5 separate regions of the Homo sapiens genome follow, and regions 1, 2, 3 and 5 are each linked to region 4. Evidence: promoter capture Hi-C in 16 types of primary human blood cells and fetal thymus (Javierre and others, 2016). All regions are on one chromosome and are shown on one strand. The core of a region is centred on a gene start or on the middle of the fragment in contact, and the rest is flanking DNA. Distances in the headings are between cores, read along the strand shown. Region 1 overlaps PHYKPL (5-phosphohydroxy-L-lysine phospho-lyase). Region 2 overlaps COL23A1 (collagen type XXIII alpha 1 chain). Region 3 overlaps COL23A1 (collagen type XXIII alpha 1 chain). Region 4 holds the start of COL23A1 (collagen type XXIII alpha 1 chain). Region 5 holds the start of ZNF454 (zinc finger protein 454).

What was found. The method cuts DNA at HindIII sites, captures the fragments that hold promoters and counts their contacts. A CHiCAGO score of 5 or more calls a contact.
Region 1: a fragment that was not itself captured here is called in contact with the fragment with the promoter of COL23A1 in region 4 in 1 of 17 cell types (M0 macrophages); the score reaches 5.2 in M0 macrophages.
Region 2: a contact is called between a fragment that was not itself captured here and the fragment with the promoter of COL23A1 in region 4, in 15 of 17 cell types (M2 macrophages, M0 macrophages, erythroblasts and 12 more). The highest score is 79.5, in M2 macrophages.
Region 3: a fragment that was not itself captured here is called in contact with the fragment with the promoter of COL23A1 in region 4 in 10 of 17 cell types (M0 macrophages, M1 macrophages, M2 macrophages and 7 more); the score reaches 22.2 in M0 macrophages.
Region 5: the fragment with the promoter of ZNF454 here is called in contact with the fragment with the promoter of COL23A1 in region 4 in 4 of 17 cell types (monocytes, endothelial precursors, erythroblasts and 1 more); the score reaches 5.8 in monocytes.

What each region holds. Positions count from the first base shown.
Region 1 is chr5:178,214,672-178,217,382 of GRCh38, reverse strand. It overlaps PHYKPL (5-phosphohydroxy-L-lysine phospho-lyase), which reads left to right. Exons shown (of 13, transcript NM_153373.4): 9 at 1,953-2,107; 10 at 2,498-2,587. Among named protein-coding and RNA genes, the nearest start is that of HNRNPAB, 11 kb to the right of the region's middle. The HindIII fragment of the contact is 9,930 bases long and covers 1-2,711 here.
Region 2 is chr5:178,286,929-178,289,628 of GRCh38, reverse strand. It overlaps COL23A1 (collagen type XXIII alpha 1 chain), which reads left to right. Exons shown (of 29, transcript NM_173465.4): 5 at 1,279-1,305. Among named protein-coding and RNA genes, the nearest start is that of PHYKPL, 55 kb to the right of the region's middle. RefSeq lists enhancers at 1,903-2,447, 2,448-2,700. The HindIII fragment of the contact is 9,200 bases long and covers 1-2,700 here.
Region 3 is chr5:178,260,243-178,262,942 of GRCh38, reverse strand. It overlaps COL23A1 (collagen type XXIII alpha 1 chain), which reads left to right. Exons shown (of 29, transcript NM_173465.4): 10 at 691-726; 11 at 1,195-1,221. Among named protein-coding and RNA genes, the nearest start is that of PHYKPL, 29 kb to the right of the region's middle. The HindIII fragment of the contact is 4,641 bases long and covers 1-2,700 here.
Region 4 is chr5:178,589,048-178,591,747 of GRCh38, reverse strand. It overlaps COL23A1 (collagen type XXIII alpha 1 chain), which reads left to right and starts at 1,355. Exons shown (of 29, transcript NM_173465.4): 1 at 1,355-1,844. The coding sequence starts at 1,551. RefSeq lists a silencer at 1,154-1,353 and an enhancer at 2,009-2,700. The HindIII fragment of the contact is 4,652 bases long and covers 1-2,700 here.
Region 5 is chr5:178,939,750-178,942,449 of GRCh38, reverse strand. ZNF454 (zinc finger protein 454) reads right to left here and starts at 1,252. Exons shown (of 5, transcript NM_001178089.3): 1 at 1,006-1,252. It overlaps ZNF454-DT (ZNF454 divergent transcript), which reads left to right and starts at 1,435. Exons shown (of 1, transcript NR_186409.1): 1 at 1,435-2,700. The HindIII fragment of the contact is 10,957 bases long and covers 1-2,700 here.

The DNA.
Region 1 (2,711 bases), core at 36-2,535, 370 kb after region 4:
CAGATGTGGTGGCATGCACCTATAGTCCCAGCTAGTTGGGAGGCTGAAGCACCAGAATCGCCTGAACCTGGGAGGCGGCAGCTGCAGTTTGCTGAGATCGCACCACTGCACTCCATCCTGGGTGACAGCGAGACTGTCTCAAAAAAAAAAAAAAAATCTGTTGAGCCTCTCTAGTAAATGCTTCATTTCATTTATTGTGCTTATCAACTTCAAATTTTCTGATTGATTTTTAATAATTTATCTATCATTAGACTCTGTTTTGGTAAGACATCATTTTCATGCTTTGCTTTCAATTTTTTAAGTATAGTTTCCTTTAGGTCTCTTAACATATTTGGTTTTGGGGTTGTTTCTGTTTGCTTGTTTGGATACAGGGTCTCACTCTGTTGCCCAGGCTGGAGTCTTGGCTCACTGCAGCTTCAGCCTCTGGAGCTCAAGTGATCCTCCTGCCTCACCCCGCAAGCAGCTGGGAGTACACACATGTGCCACCACGCCTGGCTATTTTTATTTTTTGTAGAGATGGGGTTTCACCATGCTGCCCAGGCTGGTCTCGAACTCCTCACCTTAGGCAACTCACCCATCTTGGCCTCCCAAAGTGCTGGGATTACAGGCATGGGCCACTGCACCCAGCTAACATGTTTGTAACATCTGATTTAAAGTCTTTATCCAGTAAGGTCAGTGTCAGCTTCCTCGGGCGCAGTTTGCATTGATTGCTTTTTTTCCTCCCGTGTCTGGGCCATGCTTCTTTGCATGTTTCAGAATTTTGTTAAAAGCTGGACATTTTAAGTAACATAATGTGGCAACTGTGGAAATCATATTCTCCTCCCTCCCCATGGTGGTTCCTTTTTCTTGTTTAATGTCTTTTCTGAACTAATTATGTAAAGTTGTGTTCTTTGTCATGTGTGGCCACTATAGTCTCTGCTTGATTAGCTTAGTGGTCCTCTAACCATTAGATCTCCTTAATTGCCTGGAACCCGTAAGTCACTCAGCCAAGAGTTTATAACTGCCTTAGACTTTACTTCCTCATTCTGCAGAGGCTCAAGGTAGCCAGTGGTGAGAGCTTAGGGCTTTCTAGATCTTACCTGAGCATGCACACAGCACTGGGCATAAGCACATCCCTATGCATATGAATGGCCTTCTAGACTCCCAGGAGTACGTCACAGCCTTTCAAAGCCCCCTGTAGCCATCTCATAGTAACAGAAAGCAGATCAGTGGATGCCTGGGTCCAGTAGTAGCGGGACGGTTGCACAGGAAGTGATGAAAATGTTCTGCAACTTCACTGCGAGGGAGGTTACACAGGTACATACATTTGTCACCTCACGTTGAACTTTATACTTTAAACACAGTTTATATATAAATTATACCTCAACAAAGCTGATGTTTTTAAAGATGTAGTTTAAAAACGAAACAAAAAACGTGGTTTGCAGGAGACACCTTGCTCGTGATCCTCTAAAACACAGGTCTCCACTCAGATACCTGCAGGATGAGGACAGGGTGGGCGAGGGAAAGGAGCCAGAGCCCTCCAGGGGTGTGAAGCAGCTTTTCCTGGGTGGGGCTTGGCGTGCTGCGCTCACTCTCCCTGGAGGAGGAAGTGCCTAATCCAGTCCTCTGGGTCTGGGCCCAGGAGATGGGGCCTTAAAGCCTCTCTTGGTAAAGACTAGCCCTGTGGGAACAAACAGGACACCCTCTCCTCTGATTCTGTATCTTCTAGGGGCTCCTACTGTACTTCAGGGATACCTGACCTGAGTTGCAGTCACATTAGCTCCTGGAAAGCCAGGACAGCCCATGTTGAACCCCACTTACTACTGCTGAGGACTGTGCGCCCTAAGGGGTTTGGGGCCTCTGCTCTTGCCACTGGCCTTGGAACACGTGTGGCAGTTCTTCTGCCTCACCCTCACTCTGGGGCATGGCCCACTCTGCCAGGGCATCTGACATGTTCTTTGTCCCTGGCTCAGTTTGGGGGCAGCCCAGTGTCCTGCGCTGTGGGGCTGGCCGTCCTGAATGTCTTGGAGAAGGAGCAGCTCCAGGATCATGCCACCAGTGTAGGCAGCTTCCTGATGCAGCTCCTCGGGCAGCAAAAAATCAAACATCCCATCGTCGGGGATGTCAGGTGAGGCTCTGGGGGCAGCAGTCACCACCCACCTGCCAAGGCCCAGTGTGGTACCATTTTCTTCACCTCCTAACAACCTGGGATGGTGGGGTTATGTCCGCTCTCAAGAGGAACTGAGACACTGAGAGGTGCTATTGCCCAAAACGGCTCTCCTGGGGAGGAGAAAGCTAGGACATGACCTGATCCCTAGCTACCCCTGAGCCTCTCTCCTCTGTCCACACCAAAGATCTCTCCCAGCCCAGTTATTCCCTGAAACTATTCTCACCACCTTCTGAAGGTGCCTCCTGCACTCAGCCCCCTCAGGAGGCACAGGTAGGAGCCCAGAGGCTGAGGCCAGCACCCTGGCCCCTCAGGCCTGGCCTCCTGAGATGTCGTCACCTTCCCTTGCAGGGGTGTTGGGCTCTTCATTGGTGTGGATCTGATCAAAGATGAGGCCACAAGGACACCAGCAACTGAAGAGGCTGCCTACTTGGTATCAAGGTATTTTCTTCTTGAAACAAGTTGCTTCCTGGAGTAGGAGACACCACAGGTACCTCTTTGCAGGGCCAGTGGAAAGGAGCCTCATCTGTACCCCCAGCACTCTGGGCCACAGACTTGATTGAAA
Region 2 (2,700 bases), core at 149-2,648, 300 kb after region 4:
TTGTCCCAGGAATTAGTCGGGCTTGACCACTAGACCCTGGGGTTCATTTTTCTTCTTTGCCAGAATGTGGATCAGACAGCTGAGACCTTGTGAGCACACCTGGCTGGTGAGGGCATGGCACTGGAGCAGGAGGAAAATGTCACTGCATTTGTGAGGGGTGTGAAGGGTATGAGGGAAGCACTGGGCAGCTCCCTTGAACTTCTCCTGGCCGGCCAGAGGCAGGTTTGAATGCAGGGGATTGCAAGTGGTCCTAGAAATCCCATTCATTCTCCAGGGCAAAGGATGTGCCTGCCTTTGATTCATGCTGTCAGTTTTTCAGAGCCCGGTAAATCCCAGTTAATCCACTCAAGAAGCACATTGACAGTCAGAGCCAAAATCAGCCTTCTCAAGGAATTCCTTTCAGATGAGCCCTTTTATTTTTTACTTCCGTGTACCATGATTGGTTTCCCGATCAGTGCCCTTCGGAATCTGGGCTTCTCGGTGCATGCAGCCCCACCGTGAGCCAAGCAAGACAGCAGGATTGTGTTGATTTATTGGCTTCAAGCGATGTTTGGCAGCTGAGTTCTTCCTGGCTGTCTCAGGGAGGCTAGCGTGTGTGAACTTGCTGAAGTACCTAACGCCGGGGGCTATAGAGTGTTTTTTTTGTTTCTTTTTTAACTTGGCAGTTAAAATAGTAAATGAATTAAACAAATGCAGAAATTCTCAAGCTGCAACCTGGAAGGGTCTGACCTGGGAGATGGGTGCCCAAGTGTGGAACACAGGCAGGGTGGTCACTGCTCCAGGGTCTGGAACTAGGGGGCAGAGAAGCATGCAGCCACAGTGAACGCCCCCCGATATTCCTGGCTTCTAAGGCTCTCTTTCTTGGTTCACCCCATCCCAGTGGCAACTGAGAGGAAACAGGCTCTCTTCCAGGCCTAGTTTAAGGAGCATTTTCAGTTCCTGGTTGGTCGTGTGGTTGTGGCTGCACCCTCCAGAACCCCACGTCCCCACGTGGCATTTACCCTATGCCTGGCCAGCGTGGGGAGGGCACACATGTGACTGTGCCCGGAGCCCCGATGAAGCCCTGAGGCTCTTGGTCCCTCCAGCCTGGCCCTCTGAGGCAGGAAAGGGCTGCTCTGCCCCCAAGACCCCTGGAGCCCTTGAGTCCTCCCGCTGCAGAGGAAGTCACCAACCAGCTGTCGGGGGGCGGGTGTGGGTCTGGGCCCTGATTGAGCTCTAAGTGTTGCCATATGGTTTCTGCCGAAACTCTGATTATTAATGACATATTAATTACCACAGGGGCAATCAGGACGAGATGGCTACCCGGTAATTTGTCATTTATTTTTTTGCTCTCTTCACCCTTTTCTCTTAAACCAATATTCTTTCCCTGAGCCTTGATTTAACTCTGTCTGCGCTCCTGTCTCTTCTGCTCCTCAGCAGCCGTGGTCTTTCTGTGGAGGCGATTAGCGTGAGCTCTGGGGAGGTAAAGGCTGCACAGATCTCCAGGGCTGCCCTGGAGGCAAGGCAGAGCACCTCGAGCAGGTGTCTGGGTGGCACTGAATCCACCTGCCACTGCTTCTTCAGTAAGTCCAGCCAAGAGCCAACAGTCCAGCCCCCGCACTGTGGCGTGCTCCACTGGAGGGCTGGGCCTCTTCCCAGTGGGCAGAGGACTCCCTGTCCCAGCCACCGCTCCTCGTCATCACTCGATAACAGGAGACTGGCTGGTTCCAGTTTGGCTGTGGTGTCATCCCTTGGCAGATCTCTTAAAATTAACCCAAAAGCTAGCGCATTCCTGGGATAGATGTCCTAGCCCCGGCCAAGTGAGCACCACGTCAGCAGCAAGACGCAGCGTGGCTGTGCCGCTGTCAGGTCCTGTGCGGGGGTTGAGGGTCGTGGCAGCAGCATCCGGAGGTCCTGGGATGTCAGAAAGAGTAGGGGGAGCCCAGCAGCAGAAGAGATTGGCAGGGCCGTCAGGGGAGGGGCAGATTCATTTTGTGCCTCCAGGGCAGGAAGATGCAGGGAGGGAAATGCTGGCTGATTCGGGACAGATCTGTGCAGTCAGGACGGCTGGTGATAGAGAGCGGTGGTCCCCGGTCCTGCAGCGGAGGAGAGGAGGCCAGCCCCAGCACCAGGGAGACTTGACGTGGGGTCCACTCTGCTTCCTCTCGGCTGAGTGACCTTAAGAGAAGGTGCTCACCTTCGCTGAGCTTCAATTTCCTGCTCTGTGAATGCAGAGATGAAGGCACATGATGTGTCACAAACCCAGCCCTCCAGGACTTGGTGGTAACTCTGGGGAACATTGACTTCATGCTGGAGTGGCCCCGTGCTGGGCTGAGTCAAGTTTGGGATCTCCCAGGCAGTCCGGGCAGCTCCCCCAGCAATGAGCAGCCTGGCCTCTCAGACTCTGCGGAAGTAAGAATGAAATGTGAAAACCAGCTGGGACCCACCCTCATCCCATGGCACACCTGGGGTTAGGGCCCTGCCGCAGTCCCCAGCTGCTCTTCTGATTAGGCAAGGGTCAGGCTCCCGTCTCCTGCACACGGCAGCCCGGACCTTTGGGCGTCCAGCATCTTGGGGAAGCACAGGCTTTCGCTGGAAAGTTCAGCCCCGCATCTTGGCATTATTCGCTGTACCAGTACCGGCTCGGGAGGACCGGAGACTAACAGAACCACTCCTGGCATGACGCAGTTCCCTTCACCCCGGGTTACTCTGTATTCACAG
Region 3 (2,700 bases), core at 55-2,554, 330 kb after region 4:
CTGGGTCTCTGATCCCAATCAAGACCTTGACCTCTAACTCATTCCCAAATCCTGGTCTACGCCCCCAATTCAGACCCTAACTCTGAACCTTACAGACTCTGACCCTGACTCCCAACCCAACTCTAACTTCAAACAGACCCAGAGACCCTAAGCTGACCTTAGTTGCAATCCCAGTCCCAATCCTGACTCAACCCTGAGCCTGAGACCCTTCTGGGGACACTGTCTCTGCAGACCTTTATCAGCCCCTCCCCTCATGCTCCCCAATAGTATCTCAGCCTCAGCTTTCCTCCCAGGGTCTCCAAAGTCTAGAGGCCAGGCCCCATCCTACTACCCCTTTCCCTAACCCAGAATCCCCAGCCTGTCCTTCCCTTCATTGTGGAGCCCATGCCACCACCAGACTGCCACCAGGGTCCCCCCCCAGTCAAATGGATCCCCACCAAACTGCTGCCAGATTCCCCCAGGACAGCTGCTCAGTTGGCTCATCCATTACTTGTCACACCGGGCCAGTGGCTTCCCCAGCCTAACATTCTCATCTGTGGAGTGGGGACAGTGATACTCGCTCTTCAGGTTTGGCGAGAATGAGATAAGATAATGTACTTAGAGCCCCAGCCCGGGGTCTGGCCTGAGATTTGGGCTCAGTTCAATGTGACATCCTGCATCCTTCACTGCTGTCCCCTCACACTTCCGCAGGGCCCCAAAGGAGAGCCCGGACAAGACGGCGAGATGGTCAGTATCCAGGGCATTCCAGAGGCCTGGGCTGCTAGGATCATGGTTCCCAGACCTGGAAGCCCCTTTCCCACACACGCCGACAGCAGGGTCACGCGCACATGTTTATGTGTGTGCGCGCGCCTCTGCATGTACGTGTCTGCATGTGTGTGGACCCCTGTGCACCTGCCCCTCCAGCCACCCTGGGGAAATGGCTGGGTGAGGCACCAGCCAGGGGGATTCCAGTAGCTCCACATTCCTGTGCGGAGGCTGCGGTCCACTTGCCACCACCTGAGCCCTAATGCAGAAGCTGTCCCAGGCTTGAGGAGTCAGGCCCAGGGTGGGCAGCTCCAGCCTGCTTCTGACGGCAGCCCAGCCTCCTGCTCTCTGGGATTGGTGTCACCTTTTACAAAGCCAGGATGCTAAGAAGGACAGGCCCAGGAGCAGCCTCCAGTATGACATTTAACACCTTCTCTTCTCTTGTTCCAGGGCCCAAAGGGACCCCCAGGGCCCAAGGTGAGTACTCCTTATTCCCCATGCCCCTCCCCAGATCTGGTGGGATGGACTCCCCCACCACCACCTCCACTTCCTGTCTCTTCCCCCCACCCCTAGTGAAGCCAAGGCAGCAGGGTCAGGAGATCAAATTCCTGGACCATGGGCAAGTTACTGCATCTCTCTGGGCCTCAGTTTAGTCATCTGTTAAATGGAGGCACAGTAAACCTTTCCTGCCTTTTTCACACTGAGTTGCGAGGGTTGAATCATAAAACACATTAGCCTTTTGGTTTCAAATAGATTTTCCTTTTTTTTTTTAATTTTCTATTCTTTTGAGGCAGAGTCTCACTGTCGCCTAGGCTGGAATGCAGTGGCACGATCACAGCTCACTGCAGCCTCCACCTCCTGGGTTCAAACAATTCTCCTGCCTCAGCCTCCTGAGTAGCTGGGACAACAGGTGTGTGCCACCATGCCCAGCTAATTTTTTGTATTTTTAGGAGAAATGGGGTTTCACCATGTTGGCCAGGCTAGTCTCGAACTCCTGACCTCAGGTTATCCTCCCACCTCAGCCTCCCAAAGTGCTGGGATTACAGGTGTAAGCCACTGTACCTGGCCCAAATAGATTTTATTTTTAGAACAGTTTTTGTTTCACAACAAAACTAAACAGAAAGTACAGAATTTCCATATCCCCCTCCCCCGCTGTGGACATCCCCCACTTGCTACAGATGACCCACCTGTGTGGACAGACCACCATCACCCAGATGCCGTCGTTTACATTAGGGTTCACTCTTGCTGTGGTACACTCTGGATTCGGACAAGTGTGTGTTGACAAGTATCCACCACTGTGGTGTCATGGAGTATTTACCCTGCCCTAAACATGCTCTGTTCTCCGCCTGTTCATCCCTCGTTCTCCCTAGCCCCTGACACCACTGATCTTTTATCTTTTTTTTTGAGATGGAGTCTTGCTCTTGTCGCCCAGGCTGGAGTGCAATGGCACAATCTCAGCCCACTGCAACCTCTGCCTCCTGGTTTCAAGTGATTCTTCTGCTTCAGCCTCTCAAGTACCTGGGATTACAGGCGTGCGCCACCACACCTGGCTAATTTTGTATTTTTAGTAGAGATGGGGTTTCACCATGTTGGTCAGGCTGGCCTCGAACTTCTGACCTCAGGTGATCCACCCACCTCAGCCTCCCAAAGTGCTAGGATTACAGGCATGAGCCACCGTGCCCGGCCACCACTGATCTCTTTTCACTGTCTCCATAGTTTTGCCTTTCCCAGAGTGTCATCTAGTTGGAATCAGACAGTGTGTGGCCTTTTCAGATTGGCTCCTTTCACTTAGTAATACACATTGACCTTTCATCCATGTCTTTTCATGGCTTGACAGCTCATTCCTTTCTAGCACTGAATGATAGTCCATGTCTGGGTTTATTATTTATTGAATGATAAGCCACAGTTTATTTACCCACTCACCGACTGAAGGACATGTTGGCTGCTTCCAGGTTT
Region 4 (2,700 bases), core at 106-2,605:
TGGCAAACAATACATGCAGTAACATTAACATAGGTAGGTGGTGTGCAGTTTATGTGCCTGTAAGAAATGTAGTGCTGACTTGTAAGAGGGTGTTGGCCTCTTTTCAGAATGAGGCCAACTTTTCATTCTATTGGGCATACACCAGACTTTAGCACAGAGCCAAGTCTATCAACCATAACCCCCGGCCATCTCAGGGGTTCCCCTCTGAATTAAGGGAAGGAGATGGAACATGTTAGCCAGAGGCACTCAACAGTTCTAAAAGGTGAGTATCCACAGAAATGAGACAACCAGAAGATATCCAGAGTGAGAGGGAAGATGGATATAACGTTATTTTTCTTAAAAAAAAATGGTTGGGGGGTTACTCAAATCACAAAGATCTGAACTGCTGGTTTGTTGTTTCATTTAGGTATTACAGGAGTTAGCGAAAGAGTTACTTGGGACCCATTTAGGACATGAATATGCCTGGTAGGAATCTGAACCCAGCCTGACTTCCAGCAGTTCTTCCCTTTCCTGCCAAGACTTGTTAGTGCCACTCATTCTGTTCTCTGGACCCAGGCTGTACGCCACAGCCTTCTTGCCTCAGCCCTGTGATTTAAATTTGCAGCAGAATCGCAGTACAGGTTAAGTGTGGTGCATACTAGATCATAATTTTTGGCCAAGTTGTGCGTCTAATACAGAATTAAGTCATCAGTTGAACAAGACTTGAAGTTCATTTTCTGAATCTTTCCCATTCGTTATAGTCTCAGTTTTCTCAAAAGCCCTCTCCAGGCCAGAAACAGTCTTACCATTTTTGTTTCCCGCACCGAAGTCCGGCAGCTAAGAACTCGTGAGAAGATTCTAAGGGGCGTATTTCTGTTTGGCGCAATCTCGACCCTGCCTCTCTAAATGTGAGTGCGCAGAGGTCGCTTTCCGCCACGAAGCGGCGCTAATCCACCACCGAGGACAGACCCACTCAGTTTTTTGCAGGATTTGAAGTTTTGAACTTTTACAAGTGTCAGAAAGGTAATTCACAAGTTTAGAGGAATGTGCTAAGGCACGAGTGGTGGGTGCTCCAGCCAGGGGTGGGCTGCAGAAGGGGCGCGGTGTCGCCGGGCTCCCCTCCGACCTCTGGGGTCCACAGTGCGGGCTTGGGCTGGGGAAGCCTCAGAGGTGCGTGCGGGGGCGGGTGCCGGCGCCCGGGCTAGGTGAGGGCAGAGGTGCGCGCTGCGCGTGGGATCAGCCCGGCGCCGACGGGTGGCTCCGAGGAGCTCGCTCCTTCCTCGCCCCCGCCCCCTCGCCGCGCGGGGCCAGCCCGGCCGCTCCTCCCCTGGGTGGGTCCCTGCTCCTTTTCTGGCAGGGTCTATTTGCATAGAGGAAACTGCCCAAAGTGGCCGCTGTGGAGGAGCTGGCTGCGGCGAAGGGGGCGTGCGCGGCGATCCGCTGCTACCCGGAGGCTAACCCCCGCGCCCGGCGGACCTCGTGCCTCGGGCTGTCCCGCCTGCTCCTCTCGCACCCAGCCTCTGCCCCAGCAGCACCGCCCCCTCGGAGAGTCCACGCGCGACGAACGCGCCATGGGCCCAGGCGAGCGCGCCGGTGGCGGCGGCGACGCGGGGAAGGGCAATGCGGCGGGCGGCGGCGGCGGAGGGCGCTCGGCGACGACGGCCGGGTCCCGGGCGGTGAGCGCGCTGTGCCTGCTGCTCTCCGTGGGCTCGGCGGCTGCCTGCCTGCTGCTGGGTGTCCAGGCGGCCGCGCTGCAGGGCCGGGTGGCGGCGCTCGAGGAGGAGCGGGAGCTGCTGCGGCGCGCGGGGCCGCCAGGCGCCCTGGACGCCTGGGCCGAGCCGCACCTGGAGCGCCTGCTGCGGGAGGTGAGCGTCTTGGCGCGTGGCTGGGGCGGACTTGGGTGTGTCGGGTTGAGGGTGGCGGTACGCTGGGAGCCGGGGGCAGCGTGCAGGTCTCTGGGAGGAGGGTCGCCCGCCGGCTGCGTGCGCTCGGGGCCGTCCCAGAGATGGGCACGTCTGCGCCAAGGCGGAGGCAGGGGGTGCCGGCCCCAAGGGGTTTTGCGGTCTCCGCTCCGGCCTCAGGGTCCCGTGCCAGGCAGGCGGCCGCGAGAAAGGGGAAGGAGAGACCAGGGACTTTGGAGTAACAGACCTAGGGTCAGTCTCCACGGGGTGTGCGCTCGGACACGCCGCTTCCCGCCGGCGGCCAGAGTCGGGGATAAAGATGAGGCTCGTGGGAAGTATCTGGTGACTGTGACCAGTAGCACCTACTGTTCCTAACCAACGCTGGTACACCTGGAGAGGCGGTGGTCACGGCGGAGGAAAGCCTCAGACAGGCCCGAGGGCTGGGCCCCGCTGTGCTCCAGTGTGTCTCCAGCAGCTCAGGCCCCAAGACTGAGCGGTCACCGTCGCACTGAGGCCTCGGGGATGGGGGTGGGGGCGCCCACATGACTTGGTAAGATGAGAGGAAGGAGAAACAATCGGGGGTGGAGGACCTGGATTCTGGTTTCAGGCGGTGCCATCTGGGGTGTGGGCTCGCAGGACATCCGGAGTTTCCCGTCCCTTACCTGGGAATCGCGACTTCCACAGCTTACTTGAAAGCTCATATGAGGCTCTGTGACACTTCTAAGGGTTAAGATTGCTGCTGTGTGTCTTCAAAGAAAGAGCCACCTTTGGGTCCTCCAAGCCCTCACCCAGCATGTTGGTCAAAGCCTCCGCCTTTTGT
Region 5 (2,700 bases), core at 3-2,502, 350 kb before region 4:
TCACTGAGCGATCTCAAGAGAATTCTTTTTTTGTTTGTTTGTTTGAGACAGAGTCTCGCTCTGTCACCTAGGCTGGAGTGCAGTGGCACGATCTTGGCTCACTGCAACCTCCGCCTTCCGGGTTCAAGCGATTCTCCCGCCCCAGTCTCCGGAGTAGCTGGGATTACACGCACCCGCCACCACGCCCGGCTAATTTTTTATATTTTTAGTAGAGACCGGGATTTCACCATGTTGGTCGGACTGGTCTCGAACTCCGGACCTCAGGTGATCGGCTCGCCTCGGCCTCCCAAAGTACTGGGATTACAGGCGTGAGCCGCCGCACTCGGCCGAGAATTATCTCTTTAACAAGTTATTCAGCTCCAGAACCCACCAGGATGTACCCGAAAAGGTGGGAGCGCTGGGGAGAGGCAACGGAGGGCAGTGTCTGGGTTCGACTGGATTGGAAGACCGCTCCGCTCTCCCTCTGCGGCTTTGGAACAGCTGCCTTATCTGGCAGTGACAGGAGAAGAGGAAAAGGAGGGTGGTCTTCTTCCTCCTCAGAAAGGAGGCTAAGAAGGCTCTTCACTGTCGAAGCCTCTCAGGCAAACCCTTCTCTGGCCTCAGTGTTCTCACTCTCTGGGGCCCAGTCTGGGTGGCCTGGAGTCACGGGTGGGCAGAAGCGGCGTTTGTGTGAGCTGGGCGGGAGGGGAGAGGGAAGGGTTAGGAACCCTAATCACACACAGCCCCGTCCCGCCCCTGCCGCTTCGCCAGGTCCCTCGGGGGCTGTGGCAGGGGCTGCGCAGCGGCTGCCTCCGGCCTTGGCGAGTTCCTGGCGCAGGACTCGGAACCACGCCAGGCGTGTATCTATCACCTGAGAGGAAACCCTGGGCTTCTCGGAGTCCGCTCCAAGACACATGCCAGAGGCCCTGGCTCCATCTCCTCCACAGGCACTCACAGACTCGACCCTCAGCCCAGGATGACCACCCCTGGCCGTCCTCCCTCTCTGGGATCAAATCTCAGACATACATTCCGGGAAGTTTGGGGCATTCGATCAGCGTCCTCCAGAATGGACCACAACCCGCACCTCCTCGGCTTTGCCTCCGCCCTTCTCCCCAGACGACCTCACGACCGCTCCCGCTCTCCCTCTGCGGCTTTGACCACCGTGCCTGGTCAGCCCCGTGTCGCTCTTCGAGGAGCCTCTGCCGGCGGCGAGAGATCGCAAGCGCCACATCGCAGTCAGAACACAATGAGCTGGAGTCTGCAGCCGGGAGCCGAACTGCGCTTGCGCGTTGCCCTGGGAACCCTTGGGCCGAATTCCCACAAGTCTCAGGGCTGCTGCAGTTCCGCCGGCCAGACTCCACTTCCCAGAGGGACAATCGGCGGAGACAGTGCTGCCTTGCGCCTGCGGGAACAGGGCCCGGCCCCGGCGCTTTAGGCGCGGAAACTACCTTTCCCAGAGACCCCTCCACGCCGACCTCAGCGCGCTCATTGCAACTTACAGAATCGGTTCCGTTCCGTTCGCTTTAGAACCAGGTCTCTGCCTTGCACTAAGGCGCAGGAAGATGCAGATCAGCGAAAAGCTGAAGATGGGGCAAGGGAGGTTAGTCCAGGGGAGCGACGCCCGATCGCTGACGAGAGAGGATCGGGAGGGTCCGGAAGACGGAGTGGGAGGCGACAGGGCGCGTTCCTGACTGGGACCGCGCCGAAAAGGCCTGGAAGGCAACAGAATTGCCCCTTGGCCTGGCAAGCGCCCGACACTTCCAGCCTGGCACTGCGGGCGGGCCAGCGTGTGCTGGGGTGGCGACGCCACAGCCACTAACGCGTGTGCGGTGCGGGAGGACAAGGATGTCGGGCAGGGATGTCCTGCTTGGCACCTCAGGACAGAGCCCATGGTGGCTGGCGGCCCCTGGAATGTTCGGGACGCAGAACACTTCGTGCTTGGGAACTTCTCAGAGGTGGGGACGAGGGAGAGGAAGGCGCCTGGATGCCAGGAAGTCTCCATCTTGGACAGCTGGGTGGTATTTAAGAAGGTGGTATTTATTTTTGTCGACCATATTTTGCAGAGACTGGCAAGGATGAGATGATGCCTAAGAATATCCAACTGGAGATACTTAGTTGCTTTTGAATAGGTAATTTGCATGGAGCTCAGGAAGGAAAGATGAGAGGGTTTTAACTTTGTTGGTCGTTAAAAAAAATCAAGAATGTGACCTGTTTGTCACATACGGAATTGTTGGCCACGTTTTAGGAAGCAGTGTCAGTGACTACAGCATTCTGTTTGGAGTTTTATTGAAGATTTCATTCCATAGACACTTTGGAGCACTTATGTGTCAAGTGCTTGACAAGGCCAGGGTCAGCCGCTGTGCAGCCCCTGTAGCAGTTCCCAGGGACCCGGCAAAGCACCAGAGGGGGAGGATGTTGTGTGAGTATCGCTGGTAACCCTTCTCTCTCGCCTCCCTCGTGACTCCAGGTCACTCAAACTGGGCTCCAGAGAGTAAGAACCCCGAGTCCAGGGGCTGGAGAAATAGCTGTGAAAACCCTGCACTCATGGAGTTTTAATTGTACTAGAGGAGGGGTCAGACAAGTAGAAAGTATTTATCTGGTAGTGATAACACTACTGTTAGGGGTTAGGGTGTGATGGGGCGGGGAATTATTTCAAGCAGCAGTTTTGGAAGTTCTCTTTGAGGAGGTAACACCTGAGCAGAGATTTGAATACAGTGAGGG